Regions from separate parts of the Homo sapiens genome. Here all the other regions are linked to region 4. The links are contacts of gene promoters, found by promoter capture Hi-C in blood cells and fetal thymus (Javierre and others, 2016). All regions are on one chromosome and are shown on one strand. Each heading gives the region's core, a stretch centred on a gene start or on the middle of the fragment in contact. The rest is flanking DNA. Distances are from core to core; before and after follow the strand shown. Region 1 overlaps PRPF4 (pre-mRNA splicing tri-snRNP complex factor PRPF4). Region 2 overlaps WDR31 (WD repeat domain 31). Region 3 overlaps WDR31 (WD repeat domain 31). Region 4 holds the start of ALAD (aminolevulinate dehydratase).

Region 1 (6,012 bases), core at 170-2,669, 110 kb before region 4:
TTTATCCATTCTCCTGTTGATGGACACTTGGGCTGTTTCCAGGTCTGGGCCAGTCAGAATGAAGCTGCTATAAATATTCTTGTACCAGGCTTTTTGTGGACATGAGTACAATTGCTGGGTCATAGGGTAGAGGTATGAGATGTATATTTAACTTTTTCTAAACTCCCCACCAGTTTTCCAAAGCGGTTACACCATTTTACATTCCCGGAGTTCTGGTTACTTCACATCCCTGTTAACATTTGGTGTTGTCAGTCTTACCATTTTGCCCAATCTAGCAGGTGTGTAGTGATCTCCCGTGATTTTCATTCTTATTACCCTGATCATTATTGCTCTTGAGTGCTCTGTCATATGCTTTGCCTGGTTTTTTAAATTGTGTTTGTCTCTTTTGTCTTTATTTCCATGTGCATAGTCAGTTATACCACCTTGTATTGAAGAGACTTTCCTTTCTCTGTTGGAATTGTTTCAGTACCCTTGTTGAAAATCATCTGACCATATATGTGTGGTTATTTCTGTACTTCCTATTCTCTTCCATTGATCTATTTGTGTATGAGTGATTTTTGTATCCCCAACATCCAATTTAGGGCCTAGTAAATGTATAAATGCTTGATGAATGAAAGAATATAACAGTGGAGGAAGAAAGAAGGTAACAGAGTCTTTGCTGGGCCATTCTTGGGGAATCCTGTTATTACAATAGCCACTAGGTTGGGCATGGTGGCTCACACCTATAATCCCAGCACTTTGGAAGACCACGGTGGGTGGATCACCTGAGCTCAGGAGTTCGAGACCAGCCTGGCCAACATAGTGAAGCCCCATCTCTATGAAAAATACAAAAATTAGCTGGGCATGGTGGCGCACACCTGTAGTCCCAGCTACTCAGAAGGCTGAGGCAGGAGAATGGCTTGAACCCGGGAGGTGGAGGTTGCAGTGAGCCAAGATTGCGCCACTGTGCTCCAGGCTGGGCAACAGAGTGAGACTCTGTCTCAAAAGAAGAAAAAAAAAAAAGCCCTAGAGGTTTACAGCGATTCCATGGTTTTCAGCTAGCACCTAAGGCAGATAAGCTTAGTTGTTGAGTCATTGTTTATGTCAGAAAGGAGCTTCCTGTTAATATGGTTATATGAATAGTTTCAGAAGCATTAATAACTTAAGCTATAATGGCTTAGAATACTTTATGTGTTGTAGAAACTGAATAAATATCAGCTGGTTGATTGTTAGTGTGATTTGGTTTTAGCTATGACCGTTCATGGCGCTTATGGGATTTGGAGGCTCAAGAGGAGATCCTGCATCAGGAAGGCCATAGCATGGGTGTGTATGACATTGCCTTCCATCAAGATGGCTCTTTGGCTGGCACTGGGTAAGGCTTCTCCCATGTAGTCAGGGGCAGTTCAGTACTCTCACCTCTTACCTATACCTGCTTCCACAGAGAACTGGATTCAAAGTGTTCATTTCTAAATTATTTTCTCAGGGGACTGGATGCATTTGGTCGAGTTTGGGACCTACGCACAGGACGTTGTATCATGTTCTTAGAAGGCCACCTGAAAGAAATCTATGGAATAAATTTCTCCCCCAATGGGTAAAATAAACACACTGAATGAGGGGCGAAAAAGGGTTCTGGGTCAGTAAGTACTCTATTTCTAACTTCAATACTGCATCCAATCCACAGCTATCACATTGCAACCGGCAGTGGTGACAACACCTGCAAAGTGTGGGACCTCCGACAGCGGCGTTGCGTCTACACCATCCCTGCTCATCAGAACTTAGTGACTGGTGTCAAGTTTGAGCGTAAGCTTTCCTCCTATTTTACGTCTAAATGACACAGACAAACAGTATTGTGTTCCCGTGGAATGCAGGCCAGGCTTTAGCTTAACTGAGCAGTAAAACAGGAGAGAAATTGACCTACTGGTAAAGGAGCAAATTATAATTTCCTTCCCTCTGCCATACCCTTAGATCTGTGGGAAAGCACGCTTCTCGTTGCAGGAAGTAAAGCAGACTTTCATGAGTGCTTTGCTTCATTCTTTCCTCCATGGATGCTCTGAGCACTGAGTCCTTAATATTATTCTGAATAGATTCTCGGTCAGGGAATGAGCCAAAAGACCTTACTGTTATTTGTTCCCTTAAGTCTGTAGAAACAAGTTTTTTTAAAAATAGTATGTTTTTGCAGACTTTTGTGCTTTTGTCTTCTCTTTTGAATACTTGAATTCCTCAAGCAATTCCCCTTCTCTTCTCCTGTAGCTATCCATGGGAACTTCTTGCTTACTGGTGCCTATGATAACACAGCCAAGATCTGGACGCACCCAGGCTGGTCCCCGCTGAAGACTCTGGCTGGCCACGAAGGCAAAGTGATGGGCCTAGATATTTCTTCCGATGGGCAGCTCATAGCCACTTGCTCATATGACAGGACCTTCAAGCTGTGGATGGCTGAATAGATGACAATGGGAAAAGGACTTGAACCTCAAGCTCTCTCTAAGGAGCTGTTTTCCTCAAACGAGAAGAATTGAAGTGTTTAGTTCTATCATGTTTTCTGCCAATTACCATGCATAGACCCTCAGTAGAATTGGATTTCCATGTCAGCCCCCACTCCAGGAAGGCAGCCCAATCCCTAGGTGATGGGGAACCCCTCTCACGGTTGAAAATTTATTACCTTTTTACGCCCTGCCACGAACTGTGTAGACATTGTTTTTATTAATCTTTTGTTTGGCCGGGCGTGGTGGCTCACGCCTGTAATCCTAGCACTTTGGGAGGCCGAGGTGGGTAGATCGCTTGAGCTCAGGAGTTCAAGACGAGCCTGGGCAACATGGCAAATGCCGTCTCTGCAAAAAAATACTAAAATTAGCTGGTCGCGGTGGCTTCTGCCTGTGATTCCGGCTACTTGGGAGGCTGAGGTGGGAGGGATTGCTTAAGCCTGGGAGGCAGAGGTTGCAGTGAGCCGAGATTGCGCCATTGCACTCTAGCCTGTGTGACAGAGCAAGACCCTGTCTCAAAAAAAAAAAAAATTTGTTCGAATGCCTTATAGCCTTCCTCACAGCACCCAGGATTGTGACTGACTCTGCATTTTTAATTCTTGAAACTTGGCTTTCCATAACATGGTACATGCTTCAGGACTACATATGACCCAGAGAGCAAGGTGGCTGAACTATAGTCTGGAAGCCCTCAGGTAAAGAGGCACATCTCACCACTCATTGGTTAAACAATGCATCATAGCGAGCACTTTTCCTTTCCCTGGAGAATGGGATGTGAAGCAGTAGACCGCAGCCACGCCGATGGTTATACAGTGAAGAAGACTTCACCTCTTCCTATTGAGTTTGCTTGGAATGCTGACAGCATCAGGCAACTCTGAACTGAACATTTGCTTTGTCAGAAAATATCTTTTTTTTTACTTTGAAGTTTGGCAACCTTCATGTTACCCCAAAGCAAAACCATTGTGTCAGGAGTCAAACAAATGTTTAGAAAGCAAACATGACGTCTCTATTGTACAACCTCCTTTCTCTTGGCTGTTTAAAGGATGTACTTCGTGTATTAAAGGGTACTTTATGTTGAAGTAACGAAAAAACCCTAATGGGTGTTCCTAAACCTAAACCTTTTCTTTATTCCACATTTGCTACGGTAAAATCCTGTTACAAAACTACCCTATAAAGAATTATTTTCTATAGTTAAGCATTTTCTGAATCCTAGCCATTGGTCCATAGAGGTCTCTTTTTTTTGGTTTGGGATATAATGGATGATCTCAAATATGGATTACTCTGATTTATGTCTCCTTAGCACCTTGTTAACAATTTTTTTTAAAATAGAAGGCTGTTTGCATTTTGGGCCAGACTGCCAGTAAGCCAGGCCTGGACTCAATTACAATTCTTAACTTGTCTGTCATGCACCTCTTTTCACCTCAACTATACAGCCTCTGAACTCTCAAATTACACAGTAAATTCAAAAAAATATATAGGAATTTGGAAGAAGAAAAGGTTGTCTACAGAGGAGAGTTATTAAAGAAAGGCTTCTTGGCCGGGCACGGTGGCTCACGTATGTAATCGCTTGAACCTGGGAGGCGGAGGTTGCAGTGAGCCAAGATCACACCGTTGTACTACAGCCTGGGCAACAGAGCAAGACTCCATCTCAAAAAAACTTAATTTGCTGTTGCAGAGAGGTTGACAATGGCTTTGGTCAGCTCTATTCTGTGGACCCTGAATGTGTGATATATAGCCAAACAACTGGTTTGTTTTGTTTCATTTTGAGACAGGGTCTCGCTTTGTCGCCGAGATTGGAGTGCAGTAGTGCGAACACAGCTCACCACAGCCTTGACTTCCTGTGCTCAAATGATTCTCCTGCCTCATCCCCTCATCCTGTGTAACTGGGATCACAGGAGGATGCCACCATGCCTAGCTAATTTTTTTGATTTTTTGGTAGAGACACGATTTCACTTTGTTGCCCAGGCCGGTCTCAAATTTCTGGGCTCATGCAATCCTGCCTTGGCCTCCCAAAATGCTGGGATTACAGGCATGAGTCACTGTGCCTGACCTAAACATACTGTTTTTAATCTGATTTCAATTATAACCAAATAGTTGCATTTCCTATGTAGTTGTTCAGCTTCTGAATTCTCAGGACTACCCTCTGTTGCTCACTTCACTATTGTTCAGGTATTAATGAATTCTATTTCATAGATTATGATGAAAAGAACTTTTTTTCTTCTTTGTAGTATGTGTAAAATAATGAAGAACACTGGTGAATTAGCATGCAATTGGATATAATGTGCTAACAAAGATTTTTAGTTTCTCAGGTTTAAATTTTGCTATTAGTTCCCTTCGACTTGTTTTTCTTTGTTTTTTGGTTGGTCCAAGAGGTAGCAGTTGGGTGAAAACATTTCATCCAAGCCTTTGACAGAACAAATACCTTGTGGGCTATTTCTTCACAGGAATTAAAACATCATTGTAAGAAAGTGGTTAAGAAGCACAAAGCCAGGTGTGGCATTTGTGAAAATGGCAAGATAAACAGCCACCGTTTCACAGAACACTTAGTCCCTACCTAGATGGTATACCAGGCACATTCAGATACCTTGTTTAATCCCCACAATCTTTTGAGTTTATTATTCCCTTTTTATGGACAAAACAGGCTCCAAAAACACTTGCTCAAGTTTAGCCAGCTAGCAAGTGATGGAGCTTGAATTTGAACTGTCATCTGACCATTGATGACCTTATGAAGGTTTCACAGGTTCCCCACACTGGCCAGACAAAAGGACCGGTACAGCCAGCATGGCCTGTTTCCTGTACGAAGTCTGAGCTTTTTAAGGACTCTCCACTTTGTATAATGCCCCCCACCCTTTTTTTTTTTTTTTTTTTTAAGAGATGGGATCTCAGCCGGGCGCAGTGGCTCACGCCTGTAATCCCAACACTTTGGTCAGGAGTTTGAGACCAGCCTGGCCAACATGGTGAAACCCCATCTCTACTAAATATACCAGAAATTAGTTGGGCGTAGTGGCAGGCACCTGTAATCCTAGCTACTCGGGAGGCTGAGACAGGAGAATCGCTTGAACCCGGGAGGGGGAGGTTGCACTTAGCCGGGATCGTGCCGTTGCACTCCAGCCTGGGTGACAAGAGTGAAACTCCATCTCAAAAAAAGATGAGATGAACTCCTAGGTTCAAATGATCATCCTGCTTCAGCCTCCTGAGTAACTGAGATACAGGCACGGGCCACCGTGCCCAGCTTGTATACTGCACTTTTGACAAGTCACTTCCATCTCTGAGCTCATGCCCATGTTAAAGTAACTCTCGCACATCCTGAACGGATGAGGAGCCTATTGTCAACAAGATAGCTATTTGCATTTTTGGTTAGATGATCTTTCATCCTGTGGAACTGGCAACATAAGCATTGCAGCAGGTGTTAGTATCCCAGACCTCTGAGCCCTAAATGTCAGCAGTGCAATTCACCCCCTCCACTGACTACAAAAGATGCTCCCATGCATTTCCAGATACATTCGAAGAGGATGGGACTGCCCCAAGCTAGAGCTACCGAATATGAAAACAGGAG
Region 2 (5,686 bases), core at 853-3,352, 83 kb before region 4:
CAGGGATCCCCTTTGCCTCACTCTGGCCATTCCAAAACATATATATGTTTCATTTATATAAATCCAAATGAAAATATTAAAATTGCAAGTGAGATATTTTTGGCCTTAATCTTTGAATTTCAATGTTTTCTTATCTGTAGAGCTGGTGTGCTAACTCCTGTAATTCTGGGCAATGCCCATGTGGTTCTTGGCTGCTTCAAGCCATCTCAGGTCTGATTTTCACACAAGCTCAGCAGCACTGGGCTAGAAGGGTACCGCCCTCCCACTCTGCTGCCACTTTGAATAGAAGTCCAAGCTTTCGCTTTCTTGCCCTGACTTTGATTCTTCACATTGCTGAGGAGCAGTGATTGAAGCTTAATCTCATTGTCTACAGTCCGTCTCCTCTATGGAGCTGCACTATTCTTTCCCATCTCAATTATTTCTGATGTAACCAAAACACTCTCTCTCCCCACTGCCTTTTTTCTTTTGTAAAGACTTGCAAAGGGTCAGTTCCAGAGGCTCGAGCCCTGTGTTCTGACTTTCACAGACAGAGGCCTGCCACTCTTACATTTACAGGTCATCATTCTGAGCAATACACTTTTTTTGAAGAGTAGTCCTAAAAGCTCACTAAAAAGTTGCATTTGTATTTAACTTAAATAGAGAACCTTATGTGTAGTCCATGTTTCTGGACTCTATACCTGATTTTGAATCACTGGACTTAAATTATTGGACTTACAACACTGATACATCTTGTAAATGAACCTAAGCAAAGAATACCAGCCCTACATCCCACTCCCCTCAAGATAACTGGGAAAGACACAAAGCCATGCTGAGGAGGAGCCATGGTTTGATATTGTCCAGTGAGTGTCTCTTGGCCTCAGAATGCTGCCACTTCCTGCAGTTCCAGCCCTTGGCTGTGGTCCATTCTGAGTAAGTGAATTCCTCTGTTAAAACTTGCACACAATAAGGAGATGGCGTCACCAACAGCCAGAGAAGTCAAGGGTCCTGATCCATCCAGAGACAAGGTGAAAAGGCAGGCTGGGGGGGAAAGGGGGACCAGCAGATTAGGCCAAGAGTGTAGCATCATGAAATGTGATGTCTTCATGAGAAATGCAAGGAAATAAAGCATTTGCTGTACATATCTAACCCGTATGAGAGAGACCCCACTTCTTCAGAGGAAAGCATACCAGGGAGGTCAGAACTTGGGCCAACTCCATGACTTCAATGGTAGAGAATGGCACACGGGCCAAACAGGATGCATACCATCACCAAGAAGTGTCGGGGTCTCACCGGCTAAAGACATGTTACAAAGGTGCCCTCAGTCACCTGCCCAGAGAATAAAGCAGGGCCCAGGCAGGGAAAAACACACAAGGATACTGATCTTTAGCTGCTGGCTTCCTGGGGTCTTGATGCCTTGGAGATGGAGGATAATGGGAGAGCCCGAAAGGCAGTCTTTGGGGGTTTCAGCTGACCCATCTCCCTCCATCTGCATCTTAGAGGCCACTCTTCTAAAAACTACAGGCGCATACCTGGTGGGCAGGGAATCTGTGCCACTTGGTCAGGTCAACATTTCCAGATCTCGTTCTCCCTGGTCAGATTTATGATCATTAAGTCTAAAACATCTGCTCTTTTTCCTCAAGCAACAGTTACACCTGAGTGGCTGGAGAAGCCACTCCAGGTAACAGTACAGCAGGCTGTCCTTACTATGGAAGTTTGGCTTGTGGCCACAGCTGTTTGCAGAATGCCCACAAGACATGGTCCTGCCTCTATTCTCTGAGGGAACTACCCTGTCTCCCTTGAGAGGAGCTGAGTTCTAGAAGACTGTTGTAGGACAGATTTGGTTTAAAGTTCTTTAAGGCAATGCTGTTTCTGTCTGTGGCAGAACCCTGTGTCCAGGACAGAATAGATGGAGGCAGTGGGGTGCTGGTAAACCAGCTTTCTGGAAGAGAAAACACCACCACCACCGATTCATAGCACTTGTTAATTTTCATCATGTAAATACCTCCATCATGATCAGATTTCAGGCTACCAAAGGTTTAAAAACCAGTTCACAAAAAATCCTGAATATTTAACAATCGGCCAGCAGGGGCTGGCTCCATCCAGCAGATCCAGGACTCTGGGGAGCTGGGTTGCATAAGACATCTTTTTTCTCTGATGCTTTGAAATGTTATGAGCTTACTGTGTTCTTAAACTTCAGCTACAGAATCAAAACAGGGCAGAGACTTTCTGAAAGTATCCTTACTCCCCCTTACCCTCACCAAGAGCTGGGGCTTTCATTTTAGTCCTTGAAAGAAGACTTGAAAAGTCACAATTCTTGTTCTCTTTTCCAAATATTTTGAGTGTCACAAGTTAGAATCTGATGAAGAACTTCAGGTAGAAAGAATGTAAGAGCCAAATCTACGTGAGTTCTCAGGAATGAGTCTATACAACATGGTACCAGGGGATACAGGGGATAGCATCTTGACATCACCTCTTAAGCATGAGACTGGACAGTGGCAGAAGATGGGTGGCTTTGTAATGCTGAGCAATGGGAAGAAGGAGTTTTAAAGAAGGTTTTAGGACTTCATGTATCTTTTGAGGAGAACTAACAGCAGGCTGCTTACCTCCAGTATCTTGGTTCCAAATCTTCACCTTGCAATCATGTGATGAGGTAGCAATTAAAGGCATCAAGGCCAATGCTCTTGGTAGAAAGACGCAGGATGCGACAGTCTGGAAATGCCCCTTATACTCACATATTCTGTTTCGAGTCTGTCTTAGGTCCCACAACTGCAAAGTAATGACATGGACCAGCTCATAGTCACTTGTCTAGCTTCATCCATGAATATCTATCTCCCCCTACCCCCATGATGCACCTATTCCCTCCACTTACCTGCTCACGTAGCTACCCCTTATCTTCATCCATCCACAGACCCAACAACCCATCCATCCACAGACCCAATGACCCATCCATCCAGTGATTATTTTAAGCCTCAACTATGTCTCAAACAACCCTGGTTAAGAATGTGTCATATGAGTTTTTGCCTTTTTAGTGGTTAGGGAAGTAAAAGCTCCCAGTCCTACAGCATGATGGTGTTCCATCATGGGGAACCCATGGGGAGCCCCAAACAACAGTATGGGGTTGTTTGCTTTCATGGCAACTCAAGAGCTGCCTTATTTCAACCTCTTGGCATCTGTGGGCCCTGTGGGGACCCCGTAGTTAGAAGTACCCCATAGATATAAGTACATCTAGGTGCAGACATTCTGATTTAATGCCTAGATGCTGAACCTTGATGTGTGAAGACTAGCGTCTACAAGAGGGAAGTGCCAGTCAGTGCTGCCAGTCCCACTCTCATTGATACAGATCAGATCACAGCTGGAGAATAATGTTCAGGGAGGAGAGCAAATTGAATTATGTCCAAAAAGATAATGAAGTTATTGGACAGCATGTTATCCAGGGAATAGCTGTAGGAGCTGGAAATGTTTCACTTAGAAAAGAGATGCTACATTCAAAGGCTGCAACACCCCAATCTACCATTTACTAGGGATGTGGTCTTGTGCAAGAGATGTCAACTTGCCATGCCTCTATTTCCTTGTCTGTGAAATGGGAATTATAATAGTACCTAACTCATGGGGTTGTTTTTAAGGATTAAATGAGATATTACATGTAATGTGCTCATCCCAGTGCCCAGCACACAAGAAATGTTCAATAAAATAGGAGGCATAATTGTTCTGTTTGAATACTAGATAACCCTTTTAATGGATATTCTACAATTATGAATCTAAGGTGCTTTGGAGGAGCCTAGGCAATCTATTCCAAAATTAAATGTAAGGAAGGTACATGAGTAAGGGATGGAGTAGGCCCTGGACCAACACTAGAGCTCCAAATTTCCTAAAAAGCTTGAGCTTCTTTTACTGTGGCCACGCCTATAATGGGAATAAATCTGGTTCTTCAAACAGTCCCTCCCCTCTCTAAGCTCTGCTGGGAGTAGAGACATCAGCAGGCTGGTTCTGTGTTTAGCTCCTCCCCATCTTGACTCTCATCCCATTCCTCTTTCCTACTACCAATTCAGAGAGCCCTAAGTTGATGAATGTTTCTTTTATTTTCTTTCTTTATTTTTTTGAGATGGGGTCTCCCTTGTTGCCCAGGCTGGCCTCAAACTCCTAGGCTCAGTTGATCCTCCCACCTCAGCCTCTGAATAGCTTGGACTACAGGCACATGCCACCATGCCCAGCTAACTTTTTATTTTTTTATAGAGACAGGGTCTTGCTCTGTTGCCCAAGCTAGTCTCAAACTCCTGGGCTCAATTAATCCTCCCGCCTTGGCCTCCCCTATGAATGTTTCTTAAATGAAGCAACTGGAATGCAAAGGATCACTCACAGTATGCTTTTGAAAGAGGCCTGAGCCATTAGCAAAGCCCGCCTGTGTAGCACAGCTACAGGCATGAGGCCAGAGTAAGTGATCTGTTCATCAGCAACCAGATACCTGGACCTCACACAGTCTCCTACCGTGGCTTCACAGCCTTCTCCTCCAAAGCCATTGCTGCAGGAGATACACTTGTGTCCATCCACACTGACTTCACAGTAGGTCTGAATGTGCTGCTTTGCAGGAAACATATGAGCTACCTGCAGCCCCCGACTGTCCCATAATCTGAAAGAGATTAGGGCAGGAAATTAGCTTGTAGTAAATGTGGCTGAAATACACCCGTATTGTCCCACTACCAAAAAAGTCTTGGCTCTTTGCTGCATAGGCCAGTCAGATTGGAATGGCATGATTTACCTAAAAACGGCAGCATGAACCAGATCAATCTCTGAGACTCTAAAGTTGGCAGGAAGTAACCAAATTGAATGACATCTGAGTTCTTTCTATTTTGAGATCAGTTAATAGAAATTGAGACCAAGCATCTTAATTGTACAAGTTAATTTGTTAATTTGGTCCTTTGAGACACTGCTTTCCGTGGACAAAAGGATATTTCTGTGCCTGTGACTTAAATTTTTAAAAAGATACTTATTATGATATGGGAAATCAGTCATCATTCAGAATTAGTTACAAAAGATTTACATACAGGTCATGGCCAGCCTTGGCTATGGGGTCCACTGGGGAGTGTTTTGTTTTGCTTCTTATTTCATTTTTACCTCTTTACCCCATTCCTACCATTTTCTAAGGAGAATCTCTTCTGAGATCCAAAGTTTCTAGTTATCCTCTCCGGTCTAAGAACTATTGGCTTTACTGACTCCCCTGATGCTGATTTCAACCCTGCTTCCCCAGGGAGGGCTTCAGCTGAAGGCTGGGTGACTGAGAACACCAGGAGCCATGCAGGGGTAGCAAGGAGAGCCAGGCAGCCCAACAGGGTGGGACAAGCAAGTGACTGATTCTGGGGTTAATCTGAACACCTTCACACAGCAGGAGCTGGCTGAATCAGATGCTTTGGAACCATCCAAAACAGGGGCTTTTACTTGGCCTGATCTCATGACACACAACCTCTACCTTAATGATCCATGGGGCCAAAGCAGAGAGGCCCCAGCACCAGTGAAGGGCAGAGGAACAGAAGGCTCTGGGAAGGGCAGAGCAATGTGGAGAATCAGAGTGGGAATGGAGCCATGTATGCATGGGAGCCACAAACCTCACAAGAAACACTTTCACAGCTGCTCAGTAAGCCCACCTGAGGGTTTTATCTTCAGAGGTCTGTAGTATGTATGGTTCTCTGGGGACCCAGCACAGGTGAGTGAC
Region 3 (5,928 bases), core at 1,663-4,162, 66 kb before region 4:
AGGGCTTAGTTGGAGGTGTTTCGGTCATGTGACCAGATCCCTCATGAATACTTGGTGACATCTCCCTGGTAATTAGTGAGTTCTCACTCTATTAGTTCCCACAAGAACGAATTGTTTTAAAAAAGCCTGGCACCTCCCTCCTCACCTGGTTCCTTCCTCTCTTGCCAAGGGATGCCTGCTCTCCTTTGCCTACTGCCACGGTGGAAGCTTCCTGAGCCCTCACCAGAAACAGAAGCCTGCGTCACACTTTTCATACAGCCTGCAGAACCATGAGCCAAATAAACTGCTTTTCTTTATAAACTACTTAGCCTCAGTTATTTTTTTATAGCAACACAAACAAACAAAGAGGCAGAGTTTCCTTTTGGAGTGATGAAAATGTTCTAGAACTAGATAGTGATGATGGTTGCACAACAATGTCTCTATATACTAAATGTCACTAATCATAAATTTTATGTTATGTGCACTCTGCCACAATAAAATAAATACTAAGAAGATGTAATCAAAAATAAAAAATAATTTACACTACTGAAGCTTCTTGAAAAAGAAAAGCCTCAGTTATTCTAAAAGGTTATAACCTTCCTTGGTTGTTGGATTTTTTTTTTTTTTTTTTTTTTGAGACGGAGTCTCGCTCTGTCGCCCAGGCCGGACTGCGGACTGCAGTGGCGCAATCTCGGCTCACTGCAAGCTCCGCCTCCCAGGTTCACGCCATTCTCCTGCCTCAGCCTCCCCAGTAGCTGGGACTACAGGCGCCCGCCACCGCGCCCGGCTAATTTTTTGTATTTTTAGTAGAGACGGGGTTTCACCTTGTTAGCCAGGATGGTCTCGATCTCCTGACCTCATGATCCACCCGCCTCGGCCTCCCAAAGTGCTGGGATTACAGGCGTGAGCCACCGCGCCCGGCCGGATTTTTTTTTTTTTAATAATTTCACTATGGCACCTCTCAGTGTGCCAGAATCATGAAATAGATGTTCTGAGATGCTAGAAATAATGCCACTAAATGAGACAATGTAGGTAATGACCTAGACTAGCAGTTCTTAAAGTGTGATCCATGGAACATGGGGGATTCCTGAGAGCCTTTCAGGGAGTTTGGGAGGACTTCTGTTTTCCAACCACATCTCTCAGTGAGGCCCTTCGCTCCCTCCCTCCCTTCCTTCCTCTCCTTTTCTCTCCTCCTTCTTCCTTCTTCCTTCTCCTCCTTCTCCTTCTTCTTTCTTTCTTTTTCCTTCTCCTTCTCCTTTCTTTTTTTTTGAGACAGGGTCTCACTCTATCACCCAGGCTGGAGTGCAGTGGTGTGATCTCACTGTACCCTCAACCTCCTAGGCTTAGGTGATCCTCCCACTTCAGCCTCCCAGGGAGCTGGGACTACAGGCTTGCACCATCATGCCCAGCTAATTTTTCTGTGTTTTTTGTAGAGACGGGGTTTCGCCAACTCCTGGGCTCAAGCAATCCACGTGCCTTGGCCTCCCAAAGTGGGGCCTTCTTTTCTTTTAATACCTCAACATAAACAATAGATTATAATAGACTGAATGCAGAAGCAGATATCAGAGTCCAATTGTCTCCTTTTTAAGGCAAACATTAGAAATTTGCAAAAACATAAAGCAATACCACTTCTTCCAATTAAATATTTTGGTTTTGGAAAGTATATTTATTTTTCATAAAATGATGTTTTATGTTAATATGCAATAGGTTTATTGCTATTTCAAAATTAATAAGTAAATGTCTTTAAAATTTGTTTTTTAAAATTAATTAATTAATTTACTTATTTATTTTATTTTTTTGAGACGGAGTTTCACTCTTGTCACCCAGGCTGGAGTGCAATGGCGTGATCTCAGCCCACTGCAACCTCCGTCTCCTGGGTTCAAGCGATTCTCCTGTCTCAGCCTCCAGAGTAGCTGGGACTACAGGCATGCGCCACTACATCAGGCTTTTTTTTTTTTTTTTTTTTTTTTTGTATTTTTAGTAGAGACAGGGTTTCACCATTTTTTGGCAAGGCTAGTCTCAAACCCCTGACCTCAGGTGATCCACCCACCTTGACTTCCCAAAGTGCTAGGATTACAGGCATGAGCCACCGCACCTGGCCTCATTTATTTATTTTTAAATTTAACAAACCCTGCATGTGGCATTCAATCTCAGTTTTAATGTCAAATGATGGTAGCAGAGCAGGATTCGAACTCAATCTATAACCTACATAAACAAAACCTCTTTGGGGGTTCTTAATTTTGAGGAGTGAAAAGAAGTTCTGAGACCAAAAAGTTTGAGAGCCAGTGACTTAGAATTTAAATAATGTTAATATTGGATTATATATTAGAATTAAAAGAATAATGAAACATTTTCCAGATTTACTTGTATCATCCCCCTCAACTAACGAGGCTAGAACTGAAAAGAAAGAGAATGAATTATGCATTCAAAGGTGCTCCTCCACTCATTCAGGGAACACCTCCTAAGCACCTTATTTGTGTAGGTCCTATACCAGTTGCTGGTGAAACTGAAAAAAAGAGAAACCTGAAGATGTGACCAGCATGAACATTTGCTGGGACCGAAGGAACCTAACGAAGGACCAGTCTCAACTACTCCATGTCATGTGTCCCCTGCGACTGGCTGTGATATCAGATAGCTGAGGGAAGTATGGGGGGCAGTGGGAGCACCCAGTCCCCATTTCTTCTGAGGTTCTGCCTAAAAGTTCTAGGAAATAAGTTTCTTATGGGCATGACCAACCTAATTCTAGGAAGAACTGTCTACAGGAAGAACTGTTTACAGAAGAGAACAGCAGCTAAAACGCACCAACTTAATATTCTCATTCATACCATTAGCATTAAAAAAATGGAGTTTTCCAGAAGAATTTCAGCCTACATTTTGAGAAGTTGCTAGAATTGACTTCCTGACGAGAATAGGTAACCAATACAGAAAAGCACAATGCAATGGAAACAATGTGAGTGGCATCAAGAGGCCTAGGATCTACCCCAGCCCTGCCTCATCCCATTATGTGTCCTTGAGTAGCTCCATTCCCCACTCTGGCCTCAGCCTCCCCAGCTAGAAAATTAGGACACTATACGAAATGATTTTTAGTAGACTATGTGTATAATGAGAGAAGGTCTCTCGTTATTCATCTTTGTACCCCAAGTGGCTTGCACAGTACTGTACAACAAAAATACTTGTGAAGTGGCAAATCTAAGGTCCCTTCCACTTCAGATATTCCAGGATTTTCTATAAGAGGCCACAAGATGTGCTGAGAGGCAAAATTCAGGATAGTTTTCAAAAAGTTTGGGATGTGGTATTGTTTACAGATAGAGGGTGCAGGGCTTCTTATCTGCCAGCCTAACCTATTTTTCAACATTGTCATCAAACCAATGACAGATGCCATTCATAGATCTAGGTCACTGGAAATTGCAGATGCTATAAATGGATTAGCTCTGCTCAAAACTGATTGGTATAGTCAGAGAGCCATACTTCCCAAGTAAACCATATTCATGGGACATTCTAAGGAAAAGATAACTTTTAGAATTACTTACCCCCAAACCAATAGGATCTTCTTGGTTAGCTGCCCTATTCAATAATTTGTAATGTGTATCCTTTGGAAAATAGTTCAGGCAGCCACTTCTTAATCTCTGTAATTAGTGGGAAGCCACTGAAGTTAATCTCTTCTCTGTCTAAGCATGTTTGCACTGAAAAGAGATTTACAAGGTAAATAAAGACCTTGTTTATTAAAGAGATGGTTAGGTGTAGTTTTCCCTCACAAAGAAAGAAATATTTTACAAAATTCCAAGATTATCTCTCTCACATTTCCACAATTCAGGAAAGTATACTATAGTGTTAATTATATATCTATTTTTAAATATGCAAAATATATTTAAATACATTGTTAAACATTTTGATTTTGCTCATAACATAGTACTTCTATTCATCAAAAATCTTGAGTTGACTGCTTATTTCAGAGTTTACTGCTTTTGTGAAAAAGGCAATTTCTCCTGTTTTAAATAATTCTCCTAGAATTTGAGATGGGAGAGCTTTTCAAAATCACCATATATAAACCATTTATTTATTTCAAGATCTGCAGAGTAAGGGTAGAAATATTATTTGCTCAAAATTATAACTAAGACCATTTATTGAAAGATCTGCAGAATAAGGATAGAAATATTATTTGCTCAAAATTATAACTAAGTAAATCTCTTGACTTCTAGTCCAGAATTTCCATTATAAATGTCTACAAAGAATAAACAGCTTTATTGCATTTTAATAACTCAATTTTAAGAATTCAATTAAATTCTAAATATTGATTGACAGTGCAGCTTATTCTGAGAATTAAGGGCAGCACAGAATAGTCAGAACAACATTTCATTAAATGCATTAGTGTCTGCATTAGATAGGACTAGTTGTGAATTATAGCTCAACTGTGGCCTTGGGCAAGTTGCTGAACCTCTCTAAGTCTCACTTTCCTATGTGTAAAATAGGATAATAACTCTATCATTGACTTCTGTGAAGATTAAAAATAGCACTTAAAAGGTACCAGGAACTGCTCTATGTTTTATATTTATTAACTCATTTTATCTATTCCACAAGCCTCTGAGATACTGTTACTACAGGTTGAGCATCTAATCCAAAAATCCAAAATCCAAAATGATCCAAAATCTAAAACTTTTTGAGCACTGACATGACATTCGAAGGAAATATTCATTGGAGCATTTTGGATTTTTTTTTTTTTTTTTTTTAGACAGAATCTTACTATATTGCCCAGACTGGAGTGCAGTGGTGCAACCTGGGCTCACTGCAACCTCCACCTCCCAGGTTCAAGCAATTCTCCTGCCTCAGCCTCCTGAGTAGCTGCGATTACAGGTGTGTGCCTCCATGCCCAGCTAAGTTTTGTATTTTTAGTAGAGATGGGGTTTCACCATGTTGGCCAGGCTGGTCTCAAACTCCTGACTTCAAGTGATCTGTCCACCTAGGCTTCCCAAAGTGCTGGGATTACAGGCATGAGCCACCGTGCCCAGCCACATCGGAGCATTTTGGATTTCAGGTTTTCCATTAGGGATGCTCAACCCTTAAGTATATAATGCAAATATTCTAAAATCTGAAATTTGAAACACTTCTGGTCCCAAACATTTCAGATAAGGGATACTCAACCTGTATGGCCATTTTGCAGATGTGAAAAGTGAGGCACAGAGATATCAAATAGTTTGCTCAAGTTTATACTGCAAATAAGTGGCAGAGCTGAAACTTGAATCCAGGCAGTCCAACTCCAGAGGCCCTGTTCTTGACCAGCATATTATACTGCATCTCTACAAAAGCTGGTGCATATAAAGCTTTTGGTTCAATCTGGCAAGTTGTTAACAATAAATTATGGTTACTAGCATGATTGCAAGATTAACAGTGATCATACTGGAAGCAGCATTTTCACCCTTGTTAATACTGTTCATAATGCACAAATATTAATGCACAAATATACACAGAGAACACATACAAACGGATATATGAATCTAGAGGATATTAAAGCTGAAGCAAATTATGGCCTCTGATCAGAGTGATTGGACCCAATAAAGCTAAGAATTCATTATGTTACATAGCAAGGCAATTAAAAAGTCTCAAGAACAAAGTATATGAATTTGGGTTATATCTACGTTGTTGTAATTTATCATGAGTAGAATAAGAAATAAAAGTACTACTAAGTTATCTTCCACTATTTTTATTAGGAACATGTAATATACTTGAGAGGAGGTATAATTTCTGGTTCATTTTTGTATCTATGATTTGACCTTAGCCTAGGAGAATGAACGCAAGGCAAATAAATACCTGTTGAATGAGTGAATGGAATACTAAGATGAAGAGTCGGCTTGGTGGTACGCTATTTTTTTTTTTTTTTTCTGAGATGGAGTTTCTCTCTTGTTGCCCAGGCTGGAGTGCAATGGCACCATCTCAGCTCATCACAACCTCCAC
Region 4 (5,762 bases), core at 2,488-4,987:
AGATATGAGGTCCCAGCTGCCCATTTCGTACTCGATTTTGCTCTCATGTCTGCCAGGAGTTTTTTTTCCTTTTCTTTTTTTTTTTTTTTTTTTTTTGAGACAGAGTCTGGCTCTGTCACCCAAGCTGGAGTGCAGTGGTTCGATCTCGGCTCACTGCAACCTCCACCTCCTGGGTTCAAGTGATTCTCCTGCCTCAGCCTCCCAAATAGATGGGACTACAGGCATGCATGACCATGCTTGGCTAATTTTTGTATTTTTAGTAGAGACAGGGTTTCGCCATGTTGGCCAGGCTGGTCTCAAACTCCTGACTTCAAGTGATCCGCCCGCCTCTGCCTCCCAAAGTGCTGGGATTACAGGCGTGAGCCACCGCACCTGGCCGAGAGAATATTTTTGCATATTGAGAGAATTACCAAAATGTAAGCCAGTTGCCCAAGACCACATAGCTACTTAGTGACTGAGCCAGAATTTGAATTTGTTCTGGACTCCAAATGCTGGGTTTTATATACTGTATTTCATAATACTGATAAACACCTGATTCAGTAGGCGTCTCTCTGCCCATACTGTTTCTGCTTTGGGTGCTGGAGAGACAGAAGAAACAAAAGAAAAACATACTGAGTGTATTCGTTCTGTGCTGGGCACAGCACTGAAGTACTTGGTAGTAGTATCTCATTTCATTGCAAGAATTGTCCTAACTTTTAGTGATAAGGAAACAGAGGCTCTGAGCGGTTCAGTGACTTGCTTAATGCCATTCTAGAGTCTAGTCAGATGTTGAAGAGAGGTCTAATCTCTCTGACTCACTTCCCACAAACAATCTCTGTTGTTTTCTGGCTTCTGAATCCAAAGCTGCATTCCACTGGCCTCAACTCCCCATCGCTTTTAGGAGGCTGAGGGAACAACTGGCTCCTGCTTAGCAGAAACCCTGGGGCAGGACTGCCTAGGAGCCTGAGACCGGGGCAGGGTTAGAGTAAAGGGAACAGTCTCACTACAGCAGTCCACTTTGATCTGTTTTTGAATTTTAAGATTCAGAGACAGATTTGATTTGAGAAACGGCTGTCAGTGCTGAAAATATTAAAAGCTTGAAAATTGCCAATCCTGTTTAATCCCTTACACTTTAATGTGGAAAATGGGGTATAAAGAGGCAACGGGACTTTTGGAGATCACAGTGAGTGACATACAGAGCTATAAACTGACCCTGCAGCTCCTGGCTTCTATTTCAGTGCCCTGATACCTACACCATAGAGTCATTCCATTGTAAGAGGTACTTAATAAGTGGAGTTTCCCACTCCATTCTGTGAGTGGGAAAACACCCCCTGAATCACATATTGGCAGAGCCAAATGCAGGGTGGGTTTTGCTTTGCAAAAAGGCCCTTAGAGTTTGGGAGAATTTCACAGACTGGGAGGGCACTTCTCCCAAATCAAGCGAGCTTGCAAACCACAATTTAAATGCCTGTGACATTACCACACTGAAGACAGGAGCGAGCCGCCAGGAGGTCCAGCACCTCTGCCCAACCACATCAGACAGGTTAGCTTTGCTGGGACGCAGAGTATAGGGCGGTGCAGAAAGATCCATGTTTCAGGGTCAGACAGTCCCAGGTTTGGTCTATGCTCTGCTGTGTAATTTTGGGCAAAGTAATTGACCTTTCAGTGTTCATTTCATAATCTACAAAATAGGCATGATATCTCTAACTTGCAAGGCTGTGGAGATTATTGATAGGGATAAGGTAGGTGTCTGGCACCAAGTAGCTGCACAGTAAACATGTAGCTACTTTTATTACTATTAGGAGTGGGGCTGGGTTGGAACGAGATGTCCTGGCACAGCTCTGTGCCTTCTGCACCTCACCAGATGGGAATATGAGCTCAAACCCTTGTGGGCCACAGGGTTTTCCAAGATTTCTGAAGTGGAGTCCCTGCCTTCCAGCAGGTTATGTGGTGGAGGAAAAACAAAATAATCACCACCGGGCTGCCAGAGTAGAGGGGTGGACCAGGTGCTGTCAGAGGGACTGTGTCTCTGAGTCAAGGGTGGTTTCATGGAAGAGGGGACAGTGAAGGATAAGAAGTGTTTCAGATTTAATATGAAAGTATCTCCTCCCATGGAAGGCAACATCCCCAAACTGGGAGTAACTGAAGTTGGGCCCTGAGCACTGCTACCAGGAGGGGCTATGAGCTTCATGTGCCACCCCCCACCCCTGCAAGTTGTACTATGCTGAGGATTCCAGAGGCTGTGGGTCTTCGCACAGAGGCTTAGGACCTGCTGCCAGCCCTGGCAGGCTCTGCCACTGGCCAGGGAGGAGGCAGTCAGGAGAGCCAGCTAGATAGAAGGTGGCCAGAACTGAGAAATCCAAAGCCCCACAAAGGCCCAGGAGAGCAGCTGTCATGCAGTTCTGAAAAGAGATGAAGTGTTTATTCAGCCAACCCACATTTCTTGAATATCTACTATGGGCCTGCTGAAGTGCTAGACACAGGGATTAAAGAGAAGAATGAGACCCCAGCCTTGCCCTGGGGCTTTGAAGAGCCTGATCGCCTCTGGGGTTAGCCATTTAGACGTAGGAGAAGCTGCCATTCCCAGAATCCTAGAATATCTTGGCTAAGAGTCTTCTTAAAGTTTGCTGATTGTATCACTGAAACAAGGGTGAAACTGGGCTCAGAGAGGGGTAGACACAGGCCCAGGATCACGCAGTGGGTCAGCGGCAGATCTGGGGGAAGGTCTCCAGCAGCCCAGTCCTCAGTGCCCACCATGACACCTCCATACTTTAAGGATAGATATCAAATCTGTTTCCCAGCAGGTTGGGCTTGTGGAGAGCTTTGGGTGAGCCAGACTCTGGGCCTGGCTGCTGTTGGTAGCAGGATGGTTAAGTATGTGGGCTCTGGAGTCTGATAGATGTGGGTACAAATCCTAGTTCTGTAGCTTTCTAGTTGTGTGACCTCAGTTTCTTCGTTTAGTAAATGGGGACTAGAACCGACCTCAATGGGTTGTTGTAAGAAATGAATGGGTCAGGCCGGGCGTGGTGGCTCACGCCTGTAATCCCAGCACTTTGGGAGGCCGAGGTGGGCGAATCACCTGAGCTCGGGAGTTCGAGACTAGCCTGACCAACAGGGAGAAACCCCATCTCTACTAAAAATACAAAAATTAGCAGGCGTGGTGGCACACGCCTGTAATCCCAGCTAGTTGGCAGGCTGAGGCAGGAGAATCGCTTGAACCCGGGAGGCGGAGGTTGCAGTGAGCTGAGATCGCGCCATTGCACTCCAGCCTGGGCAACAAGAGCGAAACTCCGTCTCAAAAATAAATAAATAAATAAAATAAATGAATGGTCAATGCACGCAACGCTTAGTACAAAACGGCTGTTATTGTTTTCACCTCCCTACCCCCCCACCAACCACCACCCGCACCTCGGGTTCTGCATCGATGGAGTCTGCCCAGGCGGTATCCGAGAGGGTGAACCCCAGAGAAGAGGTGCGGAGCCCCGAACCCGGGCCCCCAACCTCGGCTGCAGCGGGATAATCCAGCCCAAACAAACGCTCCACGGGACTCCGTGCACGGCTGCACCGCCAGGGCTTCAGGCGCACAGCACAATCTGGGGACGCAGGACTCTTGGTGCCACAGTCCCCGCCTCGCCCTGGAGCCGCCCTCCAGGCCCGCTATCTCCCCGCATCCAGCCCCCGCTCACCTGCCTCCCTAAGGGCTCCCGGCCGCTGCTCCTGTCACCGCTGTCTCCCGCTCCGGTCTCCCACAGACCGCGTAAGAGCGGGGGGGGCTCACCCGGAAGCAGCTTCCCCACGGTCCGCCCCCTCCACAGTCCAGGCCACGCCCCCTGAAGGCGGTCTTCTGGGGGGCTCCTCCGCTCCAGCCGCGGCCCCGCCCACACGCAACGAGGCCTGGCCAATTGGGTGTGTCGAGGGCCTGGAGGGCCCGCCCGTCCCCGCTCCGGGCCCTGCGCTTGTGCAGCGAACTGCAGGAGGGAGGCCACGAGGGGGCGCAGGAACCGCTTGGGAGGGTCCCTGGGTGTGAGCCGGCCTCGGAGGCGGTTACAGCCCAGGTTTCACTTCACAGCATTCCTTTGCCCAGCCTAGGGCAAACTTGGCTCTGGTTAATGGCTTGGTGAAAGAATAATTGGATGTCAAAGCCGTTAAAACAGCACCATTATGCCTAACACAGTATTAGCTAAGTCCATTTTTGCGGACTAAGCTAAAGTTGTTGAGTTCAGCGCCAGGCTTCCAAGTTTTCAGAGAAAATTTGTACCAGCTTCATTTATTTCTCAGGGTACGGCAATGCTATGAGTTGAGAGATGTGATGTGAAAGACATGGGCGTTTAGGAAAACTCCAAGTCTTGATAGGGGCATCAGACCTATGATAGGTACAATGATAGATCCGATCAAAGGTCTTTATGGAGATTGGAGATGTGCAGAGGCAAGAGGGATCTGGTGAGGCTTATGGGGCCTGGGTAAACCAGTAGGATTGGATGAGTAAAATGGCGATCGGGCATCATCGCCCTAGCGAAGCAATGCCTTTCAGGTGGTTCTTCAGGGATTATTGAAAAGTTGACTTTCAAATGTAGAGGACACTAGTGGGTTACATTACACTTATTCTCAGATTTTATTTCTCAGCCCGGTTCGGTGGCTCACGCCTGTAATCCCAGCACTTTGGGAGGCCAAGGCGGGCGGATCTCTTGAGGTCAGGAGTTCAAGACCAGCCTGACCAACATGGTGAAACCCTGTCTCTACTAAAAATACAAAAAATTAGCCGGGCGTGGTGGCGGGCTCCTGTAATCCCAGCTACTCGGGAGGCTGAGGCAGGAGAATCGCTTGAACCCGGGAGGCGGAGGTTGTAATGGGCTGAGATCATGCCACTGCATTCCAGCCTGGGTGACAGAGGGAGACTCTGTCTCAAAAAAAAATTTTTTTTTAAATTTCTCAAAATCTGTACCCCAAACCTGTTGTATACTTTATATTTTAAATTTAAGGGGCCTAGCGGCGTAAGGCTAGGGAAATATGACACTGCTTAGTTTCCAGCTACTGGAGTTCTGATCTGTATTCAACAAGGAAGGGGATAGAAAGCAAATAATGTTTGCTGTGCATTAAAGAGTCAGGGACAGTACCATGCATTTTACATTCATTTATCTAATCTTGACAGCAACGATGTTACTATTCTCACTTTACGGATTGGGAAAACAATTGCCAGCTAGATTAAATAATTTGCCCCATGTTACACTGGGCTCTCTCTGCAATGCCTGCTAATAACCACACTCCATAGGGGCAATTATTATTTGTTTTTTCCTAGATTCCCTGCCCGACATTTCTTTCCTGACACTCATTCCTTCCCTGAGGTTATTGGTAACTAAAAATAATTAGAACCATCTAAGAACCCAAATAGAACGGGAAATTTTAAAATGTTGCTGTTTGGTGTAGCTTATTTCCCCCATGTCTTTTCTTCTTCTTGACTGAAAGACCTGTTCCCACTCTCCCCCCAGCCTCCACCTTTTGAAACATTTTACCTTAATCTTTCAGTATTGTGAATGCAATAATATGAATAAATCTTAAACATATTGTTGAGTAAAAGAAGTGAGACACAAAATAGTATATAATATGATTTCATTTATATTAACTACACAATCAAGCAAAATTAAGCTGTGTTGTTAGGACTCAGAATAGTGATTTCCACTGGGGAGATGGGGAGGATTGAAAGGGAGATTAGGCTGGGTGTGGTGGCTCACACCTGTAATCCTAGCACTTTGGGAGGCCAAGGCTGGTGGATCGCTTGAGCCCAG

Evidence for each region. The method cuts DNA at HindIII sites, captures the fragments that hold promoters and counts their contacts. A CHiCAGO score of 5 or more calls a contact.
Region 1: a fragment that was not itself captured here is called in contact with the fragment with the promoter of ALAD in region 4 in 12 of 17 cell types (erythroblasts, megakaryocytes, M2 macrophages and 9 more); the score reaches 15.4 in erythroblasts.
Region 2: a fragment that was not itself captured here is called in contact with the fragment with the promoter of ALAD in region 4 in 4 of 17 cell types (megakaryocytes, erythroblasts, endothelial precursors and 1 more); the score reaches 7.9 in megakaryocytes.
Region 3: a contact is called between a fragment that was not itself captured here and the fragment with the promoter of ALAD in region 4, in 1 of 17 cell types (erythroblasts). The highest score is 5.8, in erythroblasts.

Annotation. Positions count from the first base shown.
Region 1 is chr9:113,289,238-113,295,249 of GRCh38, forward strand. It overlaps PRPF4 (pre-mRNA splicing tri-snRNP complex factor PRPF4), which reads left to right. Exons shown (of 14, transcript NM_001244926.2): 11 at 1,229-1,351; 12 at 1,463-1,570; 13 at 1,661-1,779; 14 at 2,230-3,668. The coding sequence ends at 2,423. Among named protein-coding and RNA genes, the nearest start is that of RNF183, 11 kb to the right of the region's middle. The HindIII fragment of the contact is 726 bases long and covers 1,057-1,782 here.
Region 2 is chr9:113,315,893-113,321,578 of GRCh38, forward strand. WDR31 (WD repeat domain 31) reads right to left here. Exons shown (of 11, transcript NM_001012361.4): 8 at 5,619-5,686; 9 at 4,465-4,606; 10 at 2,583-2,745; 11 at 1-1,017. The coding sequence ends at 857. Among named protein-coding and RNA genes, the nearest start is that of RNF183, 15 kb to the left of the region's middle. The HindIII fragment of the contact is 3,502 bases long and covers 352-3,853 here.
Region 3 is chr9:113,332,779-113,338,706 of GRCh38, forward strand. It overlaps WDR31 (WD repeat domain 31), which reads right to left. Exons shown (of 11, transcript NM_001012361.4): 2 at 3,510-3,662. Among named protein-coding and RNA genes, the nearest start is that of WDR31, 4.5 kb to the right of the region's middle. The HindIII fragment of the contact is 4,766 bases long and covers 530-5,295 here.
Region 4 is chr9:113,397,547-113,403,308 of GRCh38, forward strand. ALAD (aminolevulinate dehydratase) reads right to left here and starts at 3,738. Exons shown (of 12, transcript NM_000031.6): 1 at 3,666-3,738. RefSeq lists an enhancer at 2,894-3,474 and silencers at 3,490-3,539, 3,690-4,049. The HindIII fragment of the contact is 5,410 bases long and covers 1,074-5,762 here.